3 separate regions of the Homo sapiens genome follow, and all the other regions are linked to region 1. The links are contacts of gene promoters, found by promoter capture Hi-C in human tissues and cell types (Jung and others, 2019). All regions are on one chromosome and are shown on one strand. The core of a region is centred on a gene start or on the middle of the fragment in contact, and the rest is flanking DNA. Distances in the headings are between cores, read along the strand shown.

The links. The method cuts DNA at HindIII sites, captures the fragments that hold promoters and counts their contacts. A contact is called where the count stands out against the background at its distance.
Region 2: a contact is called between a fragment that was not itself captured here and the fragment with the promoter of C15orf61 in region 1, in 1 of the 25 tissues and cell types used here (neural progenitor cells).
Region 3: a fragment that was not itself captured here is called in contact with the fragment with the promoter of C15orf61 in region 1 in 1 of the 25 tissues and cell types used here (dorsolateral prefrontal cortex).

Annotation. Positions count from the first base shown.
Region 1 is chr15:67,518,287-67,523,022 of GRCh38, reverse strand. C15orf61 (chromosome 15 open reading frame 61) reads right to left here and starts at 1,892. Exons shown (of 2, transcript NM_001143936.2): 1 at 1,429-1,892. The coding sequence starts at 1,774. IQCH-AS1 (IQCH antisense RNA 1) reads left to right here and starts at 1,179. Exons shown (of 6, transcript NR_040052.1): 1 at 1,179-1,504; 2 at 3,921-4,023. RefSeq lists enhancers at 1,466-1,585, 2,226-2,305 and a silencer at 1,696-2,045. The HindIII fragment of the contact is 11,118 bases long and covers 1-4,736 here.
Region 2 is chr15:67,149,366-67,154,051 of GRCh38, reverse strand. The region is part of intron 1 of SMAD3 (SMAD family member 3); the gene reads right to left. Among named protein-coding and RNA genes, the nearest start is that of SMAD3-AS1, 4.8 kb to the right of the region's middle. RefSeq lists enhancers at 605-774, 3,298-4,105. The HindIII fragment of the contact is 4,294 bases long and covers 458-4,686 here.
Region 3 is chr15:67,070,386-67,074,992 of GRCh38, reverse strand. The region is part of intron 1 of SMAD3 (SMAD family member 3); the gene reads right to left. Among named protein-coding and RNA genes, the nearest start is that of SMAD3, 7.1 kb to the right of the region's middle. The HindIII fragment of the contact is 3,577 bases long and covers 1,340-4,607 here.

The DNA of each region.
Region 1 (4,736 bases), core at 643-3,142:
TGTTTCTTTCAACTTTAAAAGGTTTTACTTTTCTATGTGTGGAATGTTCTGAGTATCCACTTTTTTTGGATGTCTTAATCTCTAAATCTAAAAGAGAGGCCCCTAATCATTAAGGTGCTCTTAAACAAAATGTCAACACTAAAAATGTGACTTTAAAGGAAAAAAAGGCATTTGGCTCATGGTTTACCTATAACTCTCCCGTTATGCTTTTCCTAACCTATTATTCTTTAGGGAAGAATGATTTCTTACTTATGAAAAATGCTAAAATAAACTTATACTTCTCGAATCTAGTTAACACTCCAGTCTTTCCAAATAATTTCGAATTGAATTTCCTAAGTCACCTCACCCTTCAACTTCAACCAACCTCCAAAGTAGTGGGCATGCTCTATACAGTCCATCAGCCAAATAATAAGAGGCATTTTTAAAGGATAACACGTTGCTAAACAATTATCTCCTTACAGGACAGTCCAGTGGAGTAACGGCTCAAAAAGCCCACGACTGACATATGTGTTATTATAAGCACAAATACACAGACTATTTTTAACCTTAATGGACGATCAGATTATGTAATAGTATTAGTAGTACGGCTGCGCAGGGTTTAGTTTTAATCCTGGCTTTAAAAACCTGGCTGGGTAACATGGTTCATTCAGCTCCATGGCTAGATTTTGAATCACTGAAATCTAGATTGATTTTATGCCAGCTATTAGTAAGTTCAAAACATCTTGAGGCCTTCTGTTTTCCCCTGACCTATAAAAGATACACCCATGTCCATGTTCGTACCTCCCTCTTCTGTCATTAAACCAAAAGAAAATAAACACCTAGTGACAGTAAACATCCTCAGGGCGTCTCCATGAAAATATACAAATATTAAAGATCTTTAAAAATCTTTTAGGCCTAGCACCTCAGGAAGCTGTTATGTCTGGTGAAAACCTTTGGTGCTTTTAGTAAAACGAACTTGCCGGGAATTCATACAAAGAAAACAAAAGAAACTTAAAAGAGTAGTTCCAGTTATTGCAACATAAACGCAGCTGCAAAGTGATGTTCACGGGAATGAGTCCTGCCATGCAGTAGGACGGATGTCAACTTCAGAGCCACTTTCTAGGGGGCGTTTCCTGACGCCCCCTGGCTTACTGCCCAGGCCAGGGGTCTACTCTGGTTAACATGGGCAGGACAGGAGGGCGACCCGCCCCTCCCTAGGCCCGAGGACGCGCCCGCAGCAGGCGAACGGCTTCGGGTGCCAGGAGCTCAGCAAGCTGGGGACCCCCTGGGCGAGGAGTACAAAGGACCCCAGGCGAAGCCGGCGCCGGGAGGCAGAGCTGACTCCCGCGGGACTCTACCGGCCTGCGAGCGTTCGTCACGTGCTCGGTGGCTGAGGGGCCGTCCCGGCCGGGCGGGCTTCACCGCGTGGGCGCGGCAGTCGCCACTCACCGAGGTTGACGACCTTGAGCGCCGTGAAGAAGCGGTTCTGCCGGGCCAGGTCCTGCCAGGGAGCCTTGGAGCAGTGGTACTTGATGAAGGGGAAGCAGCCGGTGCGCAGGACGTGGTAGTTGGCGCCCTGCACCGGCCAGTTGAAGTGCGAGAGGCCGAACTGGTCGTTGCGGACGGCGCTGTAGGGCACGCAGAAGGAGGTCCAGTGCGGCAGGCGCCGCTGCAGCAGATGCCGCGTCAGCACCTCCGAGGCGCTGGGCTTGGGGCGGGCGGCGGCGCGCGAGGCCCACGGCCTACACAGCAGCAGGCGGAGCGCGACCTCGTGGGCCCTCCTCAGGGCCTCCATGGCCCGCCGCGCCGGGGACGCAGGCTGGTGTCCGCAGCCGCTGGCGCGCAAGCGCGCCCCCGGGCGAGCGCCGGGAAGGCCAACCGGCGCCGCGCGGGTGCCCGAGAGCCCCCGGTGTGCGGCGGCGCGTGCGCACAGCGGCCCCGTGGCCTCCCGCTGGGGGTGGAGTCCGGGGGATGGGAAGCGTGAGCTGCGCGAGGCGGAGGGTCACCTGCGTCAAGGAGCTGGTTTTGAGTGGCCAGGTGTGACCTCACGCCGTCATTAGTAACTCGGGCAGGGGAGGGATTCGGGGAGGTCTCATCAATTTGGGCCTGAGGAAAATTCAGGTGGAAGACAATTAAATAACTAACCACCTCCGCAAGGTGCAGAACTCAAACCCAAGTCTCCCTCCCACGCCCTGGGCTCCAGGGAAGCCCTTGGGTGTTGTTGTTGAAACAGGACGAGGCGTGACCCCGGGTCTGCGTTGTTTGGTAAGGCCGGGAGCACTTTTGTGTGTAGGTCCTCGCTGTCGGGTTCACTGTTTAAAATTAGTCCCAGAGATTTCAAAATCAAAAGTTTATTTAAAAACCTCACGTGTCTCAGTGCAGCGTCCGAACACACAAAGGCACCTCCCTCTAAGAACCTGGTAGACGGACCAGGAGCCTCTTATCGAGCTTTGTGGACCTCAGTCACCCATTACCAATCCATTACTTTCGGAAAAGCTTTGCTCAAACTTTGCGGCCTCTTGAGGCAGTAACTTACGGACAAAACTGCTTTTAGAAAAGGATTTCCTCTTTTGTCCTAAACTCATTTTGTTTGGAGAGGCCATACATAAACAAGATGATGTGTCTGAAACCACCTTATGTAAATGAGGTACAGTAATTACGCGTTAAGCATCATATAACAATTACTATCGTTGCTAAAAACTCAAGGGGGATGTAGGATAGTATGGCGAAATTTTATATTCCCCAGTTTTTTGTTTTGTTTTGTTTTGTTTTTTTGAGACGGAGTCTCACTCTGTTGCCCAGGCTGGAGTGCAGTGGTGCAATCTCAGCTCACTGCAACCTCTGCCTCCCAGGTTCAAGTGATTTTCCTGCCTCAGCCTCCCGAGTGGCTGGGATTACAGGCGTGCACCACCACGCCTGGCTAATTTTTGTATTTTTAATAGAGACGGGGTTTCACCATGTTGGCCAGGCTGGTCTCAAACTCATGACCTCGTGATCCACCTGCCTCGGCCTCCCAAAGTGCTGGGATTACAGGCGTGAGCCACTGCACCAGGCCTATTCCCCAGTTTTTATTGAACATTGAGCACCCACCAACATATGCCGAATCTTGAACTTTACCTTACAGAATTTGAAGTTGAACTTTACCTTATAGAACTTGAACTTTATAGAATTTCTTTTTCTTTTCTTTTTTTTAGAAAGGATCTCACTGTTGTCTAGGCTGGAGTGCAGCTGCTCGATCTCGGCTCACTGCAACTTCTGCCTCCTGGGCTCAAGAGATCCTCCCACCCTCAGCCTCCCAAGTAGCTGGGACTGCAGGTGTGTGCCACCTACACTCGGCTGCTTTTTTTGGTATTTTTTGTAGAGGTGGAATTTTGCCATGTTGCCCAGGCTGGTCTTGAACACTTGGGCTCAAGTGATCCGCCCGCCTCGGCCTCCCAAAGTGGTGGGATTACAGGTGTGAGCTTCTGCACCTGACCAAATTAAATTTTGAAAAAGAGTGGAGTCCTTTTTCAAACGAAATCTGTTGAAGGTCCCCAACATATAAAGTTGGTTAAAACTTATGCTTTAGGCCGGGCACGGTGGCTCACGCCTGTAATCCCAGCACTTTGGGAGGCCGAGGCCAGTGGATCATCTGAGGTCAGGAGTCCGAGACCAGCCTGGCCAACATGGCGAAACCCTGTGTCTGCTAAAAATAGAAAAATTAGCCGGGCGTGGTGGCACATGCCTGTAGTCCCAGCTACTCGGGAGGCTGAGGCAGGAGAATCACTTAAACCCAGGAGGCAGAGGTTGCAGTGAGCTGAGATCGTGCCACTGCACTCCAGCCTGAGCGACAGAGCGAGACTCCGTCTCAAAAAAAAACAAAAAAAACAAAAATAACTTATGCTTTATTACTAAGCATAAGTTCAAACTTTTTTTAACTTTTTATTTTACTTATTTTTTAGGCGTGGGTTCTCACTATGTTGCTTAAGCTGGTCCAGAACTCAAGCCAGTCTCTCACTTCAGCCTCTTGAGTCGTTGGGATTACAGAAGCCACCATGTCCAACTGTAAGTTCAAATTTTTTATATTAACTTTATAGATAAAAAACAAAACAATGAAACTTCAGTGTGTTGTTGTCTTGGATTTTCTTTTGTTTTGAGCAGAAAGGGGATTCATTGGAGGAAAATTAGGTAGCCCAAATAGTAAACAAGAAGTCTAGAGAACCAGGCTCAGAAAATGGGAAGGAACGAGGAGAGTCCGAACAGCAAAGACATAGATAAGACCAACAGGAACTAGTCTGGCGAGCATGCCATTGCTGGCCCCACTGCCACAGGACTCTTGATCCTGTTGCTTGCAAAATGTTGAAGCTGGGGGTTGTGGTTGTGAAAGTGGATCCTTTGAATTGAGTTGTTCTTATCCCCAGCTAAAACAGTGGAAAAGCCAGGGGGAGAAAGCACTCAGGACATATGACATTACTTTAGAAATGTAGTTCTCGGCCGGGTCCAGTGACTCACGCCTGTAATCCTAGCACTTTGGGAGGCTGAGGCGGGCGGATCACGAGGTCAGGAGATCAAGACCATCCTGGCTAACACGGTGAAACCCTGTCTCTACTAAAAATACAAAAAATTAGCCGGGCGTGGTAGCGGGCGCCTGTAGCCCCAGCTACTCGGGAGGCTGAGGCAGGAGAATGGCGTGAACCCGGGAGGCGGAGCTTGCAGTGAGCCGAGATCGCGCCACTGCACTCCAGCCTGGGCGACAGAGCGAGACTCCGTCTCAAAAA
Region 2 (4,686 bases), core at 1,355-3,854, 370 kb after region 1:
CCTGGGCAGATCCTTGGAGGGGGAAGCCAAGAAACACCTTGCCTTATCCTTGGGAGGGCTGGACTCCACTGGAAACACACAAAGATCGCCTAGACCTTGGGCTATCCCACCTCCCAAGGGCCATGGGTGGGCACAGAATTTGTACTTTCTGGAAAAGAAGAAGGTTGGTTACTGGAGAAAGTTCAGCCTGATGATAATTATCTGTAAAGCACGCAGACACCAAGAACTTTTCAACATCAGGCTATGGATTTGGCGAGGCCCAGAGTTTCTCAACGTTGGCACTACTGATGTTTTGGGCTAATCTTTGTTGGGGCTAGGGGGCTGTCCTGTGTAGAGACAGATATAGAATGCTTAACAGCATGTCTGGCTCCCTCACACTGGATGCCGGTAGCTGTGACCCACCTGCAGCTGTGACAACTGAAAAAAAATACCTCTAAACATTGCCAAATGTCCCCTGGGGGGCAAATCTGCTCTCTTCCCTCCCCTTGAGATCCCCCTGGGCTAAGGAAATGCTCTGAGATGAGCAAGATGCGGGAAAACAGAAGGAATCCCCCCCGCCCGCCCCCCAAGACGGAGTTTTGCTCTTGTTGCCCAGGCTGGAGTACAGCGGAGTGATCTTGGCTCACTGCAACCTCCAGTTCAGGTGATTCTCCTGCCTCAGCCTTCTGCGTAGCTGGGATTACAGGCATGCACCACCACGCCTGGCTAATTTTTGCATGTTTAGTAGAGACGGGGTTTCACAATATTGGCCAGGCTGGTCTCAAACGCCTGACCTCAGGTGATCCACCTGCCCCAGCCTCCCAAAGTGCTTGGATTACAGGCGTGAGCCACTGCACCTGGCCAAACAGAAGCAATTTACACCTCAGAGCAAGCGTTTACCCAGCACTTCTCACTCAGTAACTCACTGGATAAAGGGATCCTGCAGGCTGAGTATCTCATCACTCCCATTTTACAGATGAAAAATTTTTGATGCTGAGTGACTTGCCCAAAGTCACCCAGCAAGGAACAGTGCCTGGGCTTGAACCTAGATGTTACACTCCAAACTCAGTTCTCTATGACTACAAAGCACACTGGGTTTAAATCAGCAGAGATTCTCTTTTGGCTGTGGTGAGAGCCCCTCCCTTCCCCCATGCAAAGAAGACGGTTAAATATTGAAGGAGGAGGAGGAGGAGAGTGTTTAGGGCTTTTCTATTTAATAGCTTTGGTCTTCACAAACTTTTTTCTCCAAGCACCAAGTTGATGGGGATTGCTTTTTCTTGAGTGTCAGCAGGATCATAGAACTTTCAAGTCACAAATAAAAGATGCTACAAAGATCTGGGTTGGTCTGTGACTACTGGAAGAAAGGGAAAAGTTGCCAGGCTTCACAGAATCTTCTGGGTGGCCATTTCACTCTGCTGAAAATTAGGCCTGACAATGGTTTATGTTTTTTTAAGAGATCACTCATGGACCCATTCAGCATACTCACAGCCCTTGGCAACGTTCTGATGGGCTTAAGGCAACAGTGGACTTCACCTCAGCTTTCATTAAAATCCCTCACCCCCAAAAGCTGACCTCCAACAATACAGGAAGCTTGAAATGGAGTAAGTCACAAAGCCAGGTGTGTTTAGACCCATCTTCTCATTCTGGGTGATCTGGGCCTCTCGCTCGGCAGCAGGCCTGTTCATGTAGCCAACACTTAGAGTCTTCTCTGTTTCCAAACTACTTTGGGGAATCAAATTAATTTGCATTGTCAGTTTGAGGGAGAAGAAAATAACCCATAGGACAGAAAGGATTCCTTCATTCTACGACAACATGATGTTCCATTTGGTGGAAACAAAAATGAGTATTTAGGTAAAAACATTTATCAGCCCCAAAACTCTAACTTTGTAAAAACAGAATAGAAGATACTAGAGGCTGAAAAGTGTAAAGGGAACAGAGGGATGGGGAGAAATTTGTTAAAGGTCTCAAAATTACAGCTAAAGAGGAAAAATCAGTTCTAGTGTCCTAAACCACTGTAAGATGATTATACTTAACAATAATATATTATATAGCTTCAAATATCTAGCAATCATATATTACAATATTATTATTACATAGTTTACAATTATTATGTAATATATGATTGTTACTATGTATAATCATATATTACATAGTTTCAAATAGGAGAATATTGAATGCTTATATAGTAACATACATAGTAACATTCATATATTACATAGTTTCAAATAGAAGGAGGATATTGAATGCTTCCAACCCAAAGAAATGATAAATGCTTGACAGGATGGAGATGCTAATTAACCTGATGTGATCACCATAATGACATTAATATGTATCAAAACATCACTATGTATCCCATGAATATGGACAATTATTTGTCAATTTAAAAAAATCAAATATTTTTCAAAAACTCTAACTTTAGAGGGAAAGGAAAAAGGGAAAATAGCCTGGGTGCAATGGCTCATGCTTGTAATCCCAGCACTTTGCGAGGCTGAGGTGGGTGGATTACAAGGTCAGGAGTTCGAGACCAGCCTGGCCAACATAGTGAAACCCTGTCTCTACTAAAAATACAAAAATTAGCCGGGCATGGTGGCGCAAGCCTGTAGTCCCAGCTACTCAGGAGGCTGAGGCAGGAGAATCGCTTGAACCCAGGAGGTGGAGGTTGCAGTGAGCCGAGATTGTGCCACTGCACTCCAGCCTGGGCAACAGAGAGAGACTCCGTCTCAAAATAAATAAATAAATAAATAAATAAAAGGGAAAATGGGGAGAAAGAGCTATTGGAGACTGTGAGATAATGGTCTCATCTTAGACCCTCTTCTCCAAAGAAAAGAAAACAGGCTTAGAGGTGGCAAGGTAGAACTGAAACACAAATCTGGGCCTTCCACTAATATATGAATGTCTTAAGACTGAGATATAAGGCCTGGCGTGGTGGCTCACGTCTGTAATCCCAGCACTCTGGGTAGCCAAGGTGGGCAGATCACCTGAGGTCAGGAGTTCCAAGACCAACCTGGCCAACATGGTGAAACCCCGTCTCTACTAAAAATACAAAAAAATTAGCCAGGCATGGTGGTGGGCACCTGTAATCCCAGCTACTGGGGAGGCTGAGGCAAGAGAATCACTTGAACCTGGGAGGTGGAGGTTGCAGTGAGCCGAGATTGTGCCACTGCACTCTAGCCTGGGCGACAGAGAGAGACTCCATCTCAAAAAAAAAAAAAAAAAAAAAAAAAAGACTGAGAAATAGCTTTGCTCTCTTAATAAAAAAAAAAAAAAAAAAAAAGCAGGACATGGAAAAGTCCCCTCCCCTGACAACTGCAATTTCTCAAGTCTTATCTGCCGGCAAACCTCACTATTAGTTCAACTTCACAAAACAAACAATTCTTATTACAGGACTCTTAGTCATTCTGTTTTTCACTTTCTTCCACAGAGCAGAAGCCATTAGGTCTGGGTATCCTCTCTCTGCCCTCTTTTCCCAGACCTGGTTCCCAGCCTCCCGCCTCCTGCAGTCAGGTCTGCCCGAATCGGAGCACCATGAATCACTTCCTGTGGGCAGACTGCACGCTTGGGGGTGGGATTTACTTTCTTTCTTTCTTTCTTTTTTTTCCTGGAAAAGATTCTCACAGACTTTTGGGGTAAAACAAGTGGAACCAGGCGATGATAACTGGCGGCCTTGTTCTATCAAAACAAATCTTAAAGTTTCCAAAGACTTAGAGAAAATGTCAGGCGGGCATTCCTGACTGGGGGCGGGGGTTGGGGAGAGGTGAAGAGGGCAAATGAGGAGGTTTTGTGTTAATTGCACAGTTTTGACTTCCTTAATTATGAGTCACCGGCTAGAGAGATAAAACAATGTCACAAGTGCTGCATAACATGCAACGGGTCAACCGGGCGACTCAGTGACATTCACGCGGAGAGGCAGTGCCTCAGGACAAGCGCTCACTCCAGTGATTTTACAACAATTCCTAGCAAATGTCACACAGTATGGTTGGGACATTTACAACCATCTCAGTCTTATGACATTTACAACTCAGTCTCTTCTTTTTAAAAGAAGCCCCAAAGCCTTCAGGATTTGCAAACCTTTCAGTTAGCCACTGTTGGGTATGAATGGGGAGCTGGAAGTAAAGGAAGGGTGGGAAATGACCATGTTTCTTGAAAAAGTTAGTTTAAGGACCATGGAGGTAAAGAGGTACCTTTACATGCAAAAAATGCAGCATTTGCATGACAGCAATTGCTAACGTTCCATACACATTCTCTTGCTTTCTGAACCAAAGCTTTACAAGCTTATATAAGCAGTTTCCATCCCAAATGGTAACAAAGAATGGGTGCCCTGTATATTCTGGCATCTGTACCCTGAGGACAGTTAAGTGGCCAATTAGCATTCCTTTCTGTCTAAGGGTACAGACCTCCTATTGTACCTAAAAAAAAAAAGGTTCTGGTTCATTGGGGCAATTCACCTAAGACAGCAAAGAACCCCTATGGGCAGGAAAACAGGAATTCCACACAAGCAAGAAAGGAGGACTTCAGAGAAGCCAGGCCCACACTTAACAATGTCAGGGTGGCAACAGCCCTCCTCGATTAAGCCGGCCTCATCAACTAAGTGGCCCTTGTCTGAAAGCTGCATCCCTAAAACAGCTACAATCAGGAACAAGCAAAGGGTTCCAGGTGAGGCGTCCTCCCGCTGGGTCCTAGATACTTACAACTCTCCCCGGTATCAGC
Region 3 (4,607 bases), core at 1,879-4,378, 450 kb after region 1:
TGGCTTGGCAGTTTGTGATGCAACACTTAGCAGCAAAAGGGACCAGATTCATAACTCTGTAGGTTTCAAAGGCAAAGCCATACACAGTGTTTCTTAATACTGGAGTCCTACCCCATCTCTACTAAAAATACAAAAATTAGCTGGGCATGGTGGCGGGCGCCTGTAGTCCCAGCTACATGGGAGGCTGAGGCAGGAGAACTGCTTGAACCTGGGAGGCGGAGGTTGCAGTGAGCTGAGATCACGCCACTGCACTCCAGCCTGGGCGACACAGCAAGACTCCGTCTCAAAAAACAAAAAAAGAGAGAGACAGAGATAAAGAAACAAACAAACAATACAATACAATACTGGAGTCCTAAACTACCGGCAAAGCACTCAAGAGAAAAACTTGCCAGATGTAAGCTGGGAGAGCCATGTGATACTGAAAAAGAACTATTTAGGAGGAAACTCACTTTTCATTTCCTAGTTGGGGTTTAAACTTGCAACATCCACGCTGCCTAACAAAAGGCTCATGCTTACGCAATCAAGTGCAGCCTTTCTTTATATAGATGCTTGGAAATAAATAAAGGAAGCTTCCTGGGTAAACTTTGACATATGAGCAAACATTTTCCACAGGTATCCTCTATAATGCCTACCTCTTACATTTAACCATTTTTAGGCATCTGTGGTCATTAGTTTAAGTAAACTTCCTGTTCTTAGAATAGTCAAAAATAGCAACAAAAGAAGAAAAACTGTTCACTGCATCTCAAGAGGCACAGCCTCCACATCTTCATCCTAGCATTATTTTCATATTCCTTTGTAGTTAAATTTCACTGATTTAGACTCACAGAGTAAGGAAGAGGCAAGGAAGAGGGAGGGAAATCACCAAAATTAAAGGCTGAATTACAATTTTATTATTTTTACTTATGTAAATTAATTGACACCAGGCTGATAGAGTCTTGGAACATCAATAATTAAGAAAGATCTGTCATTCACTGATCAACTAGATGCGTGCAACTGGGAGCTTTTAAAATGTTTGTATGTGGCCGGGCGCGGTGGCTCAGGCCTGGAATCCCAGCACTTTGGGAGGCCGAGGCGGGCAGATCACTTGAGGCCAGGAGTTGGAGACCAGCCTGGCCAACATGGCGAAACTGGTCTCTGATAAAAATACAAAATTAGCCGGGTGTGGTGGCACATGCCTGTAATCCCAGCTACTCAGAAGGCTGAGGCAGGACAATCACTTGAACCTGGGAAGCGGAGGTTGCAGTGAGGCAAGACCGCGCCATTGCACTTTAGCCTGGGCAACAAGAGCGAAACTCCATCTCAAAAAATAAAATAAAATAAAATAAAATGCTTGTATGAATACCAATTCCAAGTTAGAAAGGCCCTCCAATAGAGTTTATCTAGCCTATTTTCCAGTTGAGAACATTCGAGGCCCAAAGAAGGTGACTTGTCCCAGGTCACACAGCTAATCAGAAACAGAGCCACGTCTAGAACCTACCAAGGTCTGCTGACTCCTACCTCCAAAATAATCCCCAAACTCTTGTTTATTAATTTTTCTTTGACAGCATTTATGGGGCAAAAAGGCCTGCTAAACAAACTTTTGCCTAGTCCAGAATTAGCCAAACTTCTTAATTAATAGGCTTCTACTGTGTTTTCATTTTAAACTGAGTCTCTGCCAAAACATTCTACAGCAGTTGCCACTGTGGCAGGCTGCTGTTTATAGGAAGGGTCTTAGATAACCAACAGTGGATAGTATGCTATAGATTTGTTTATTTCTCAAACTGTTAAGTCGAAACAAAGGATTATGTTATACAGAGAGAAAGAGAAAGAGAGAGAGAGATCCTTGTCAAGTCAATAAACTGCAGAGCTTGGGGGATGTGGTTTGGCACCAAAAAAACAGTATTTACAAATTAGCTAAAGAGTGAACACATACAGCATTCTTACAACTCCAAAGAACCTGTGTTTCACAGCCAGTGGACTAGAAGCTACAGAAGGCACCAGGGACAGTATCTGCCTTATTCACTATTTTGTCCGCATTATCTGGCACAGAAATTAGCACCTGGTACGGCATTAAAGGAAGGCATAAAAATGAACTGGACAAGTTCTCTTGGAATTGTCTCGGTTCTAAAGCTTAGAACACAGTAAAATTAGAAACCAAACTTCTGTAGGGTGGGCTTAGGATGGCAACTTCCCACTGTTTCCAGGAACCATTGTGCTTGAAGATGGGAAGACTGAAGGCTCCATGGCTCAGGGACTTGTCAGAGGCCAACAGAAGGTCATACCCCTCCTTAGGGAGGAGTTAGTCCCATCCAACACTGCACCAGCCATTCACGTCTGCACATGGCTGGTGAACTTCCACCCCCTGCACATTCAGCAGGCTGCCATCATGAGCAGCCTTCTTGGGCAGTTCTCTTGCCAGCCAACCAACACTATGAGATGGGGATTTGGGGGAGGGAATGGAGTCTTTAAGTTTTGCTTTTGTTTTAATCAGTCAATATGGCAAAGGAGAAAAGGGCAAAAGTCAATTAGGACTATTGATGAGACTTGCTGATTAAGAAAACTGCATTCCAATCTTAGAGAACTTAATTGCAATTACAGGAAGCTGAAGGAGAGGTGAATAAAGGTGGGAGAATAAGGTTAACAGGAATGAAAGCTGATTCCAATTTGAAGCAAGCCCTGCTTGGTCTTATTTATTTCATTAAGGAGCTCACGCAGAATAATGGCTGTACTGTGCATCAAATGGCATTAAAATCTCCTAATAAATTAACAAGTAAAAATTAATGGTCGCTCAGTTCATTAAATCGTGTTAATTTTATTCCATTATAATAATACAGCAATCACATGTTTACATTATTAAACCAATATTTATTTTTTAACTCATTTAGTTGGATTCCTGATGTGATAAGCTTGAAACAAATTCTTTCAATTTCATCAACTTCTTGCATTTCTCATCAGAATTAAATGCGACTGTATTCATATTTTTCTGTTATTAAAATTGTCATTTAAAACTTCACCCTTGCAAAGACTTTTTAAAAAATATACCACTAAAAGCACCTATGTTCATTCAGAAACTCAGGCGTCTAGGATTTATTCTCAGCAAGTGTTAACTAGAGAAATGAGAAGCTAGGTCACACCGAAGCTTTGAATTTCAAAACAACCATCTGCAAGTTGTCCACTTTTCATTTATTTATTTATTTATTTTGAGACAGAGTCTCGCTCTGTCGCCCAGGCTGGAGTGCAGTGGCGCGATCTCGGCTCACTGCAAGCTCCGCCTCCTGGGTTCACGCCATTCTCTTGCCTCAGCCTCCCGAGTAGCTGGGACTACAGGCGCCTGCCACCAAGCTCGGCTAATTTTTTTGTATTTTTAGTAGAGACAGGGTTTCACCGTGTTAGCCAGAATGGTTGTGATCTCCTGACCTCGTGATCCGCCTGCCTCGGCCTCCCAAAGTGCTTGGGATTACAGGTGTGAGCCACCGTGCCCAGCCAAGTTGTCCACTTTTTATTAACACTCCCTGTCATATTCTGAGCTGATACATCTAAAGTCCCTGTTCCCACCAAGGAAACCTGAATTTCAGTTTGCAGTACTAACTTACTTTTTACTTCAAAGAGAAAATGCTTTACAGTGGAGTAAAATATAGCACCCAAGTCACTAGCTGTTCAGTGCCAGTTACAAGGTAACATATTTATAGCAGCACTCAGTTTAGTAAAAGAGGATAAAGACGTCCTCATTCTTATAGGGAACTATCCCCATGTACCAAAAAGTTCCCAACATCATACTGCAGTCCAAAAAGCTTCCTTTGGATAACCCTTGTCCCCTTCTTAGTTTTCCACCTCTCATGGGTTCTCCTCCTCTCTACACCTCCTCCCACAGAATTAACTGTGTTTCCACATTGCTGGGCACTTAGCACATTCCTCAGCTGCAGCTCATGCCTCATACCTTTGGGCAAGTCTGTCTCCCGCTCTAGACAGGGAGCTCTTTGAGTACAGGGACCCTGCTGTGGTCATTGTAGTATGTTCTCAACGAAGGACTGAATAATTCAATAATGAATGAATGATGCAGAATGAAGTATAAACGTAACATACCTGTCAAATTCTCTGGTTCACAAAACACTTCCACAGAACTTATCTCATCCTGACTTGACAGGTGCAGATATAAAAGCTGTGAAACTTAAATGGATTCCCAAATCCTTGCAGGTGGTAAAATGGCAGGTACAGGACCTGAATTTTGTGTTTTTTTCAGAAAAAAACAGATGCCTGTCATTATTTTATTTCCTAACATAGTGAATTCTACAATATTTAAAAGGCACATCAACGCCCGCCCCCATCAAAAATCATCCATACTAGATCTCATATTTCTACTGGTAGCTGGGAATGAGAAAGAGATAGCAGTTAGATACTCAAATAATGCCCTATTCATGTTTCCCTTACTGATGTGTAAGCTTCTCACAGGCTGGGAGCTTCTCAAACGTGTCTCTGCATCCTCCTCTGGTACCTAAAAAATTGACTCAGACATGGGAGGGTCCAATAAATATCAATAAATCAACAAAATCCAGCCCTGTAACAACAGAGGGGCTGTCTGCAAACATTCCACTCCCAGGTGCAAGCAGCATGTTCCAAGGTTCTAAATG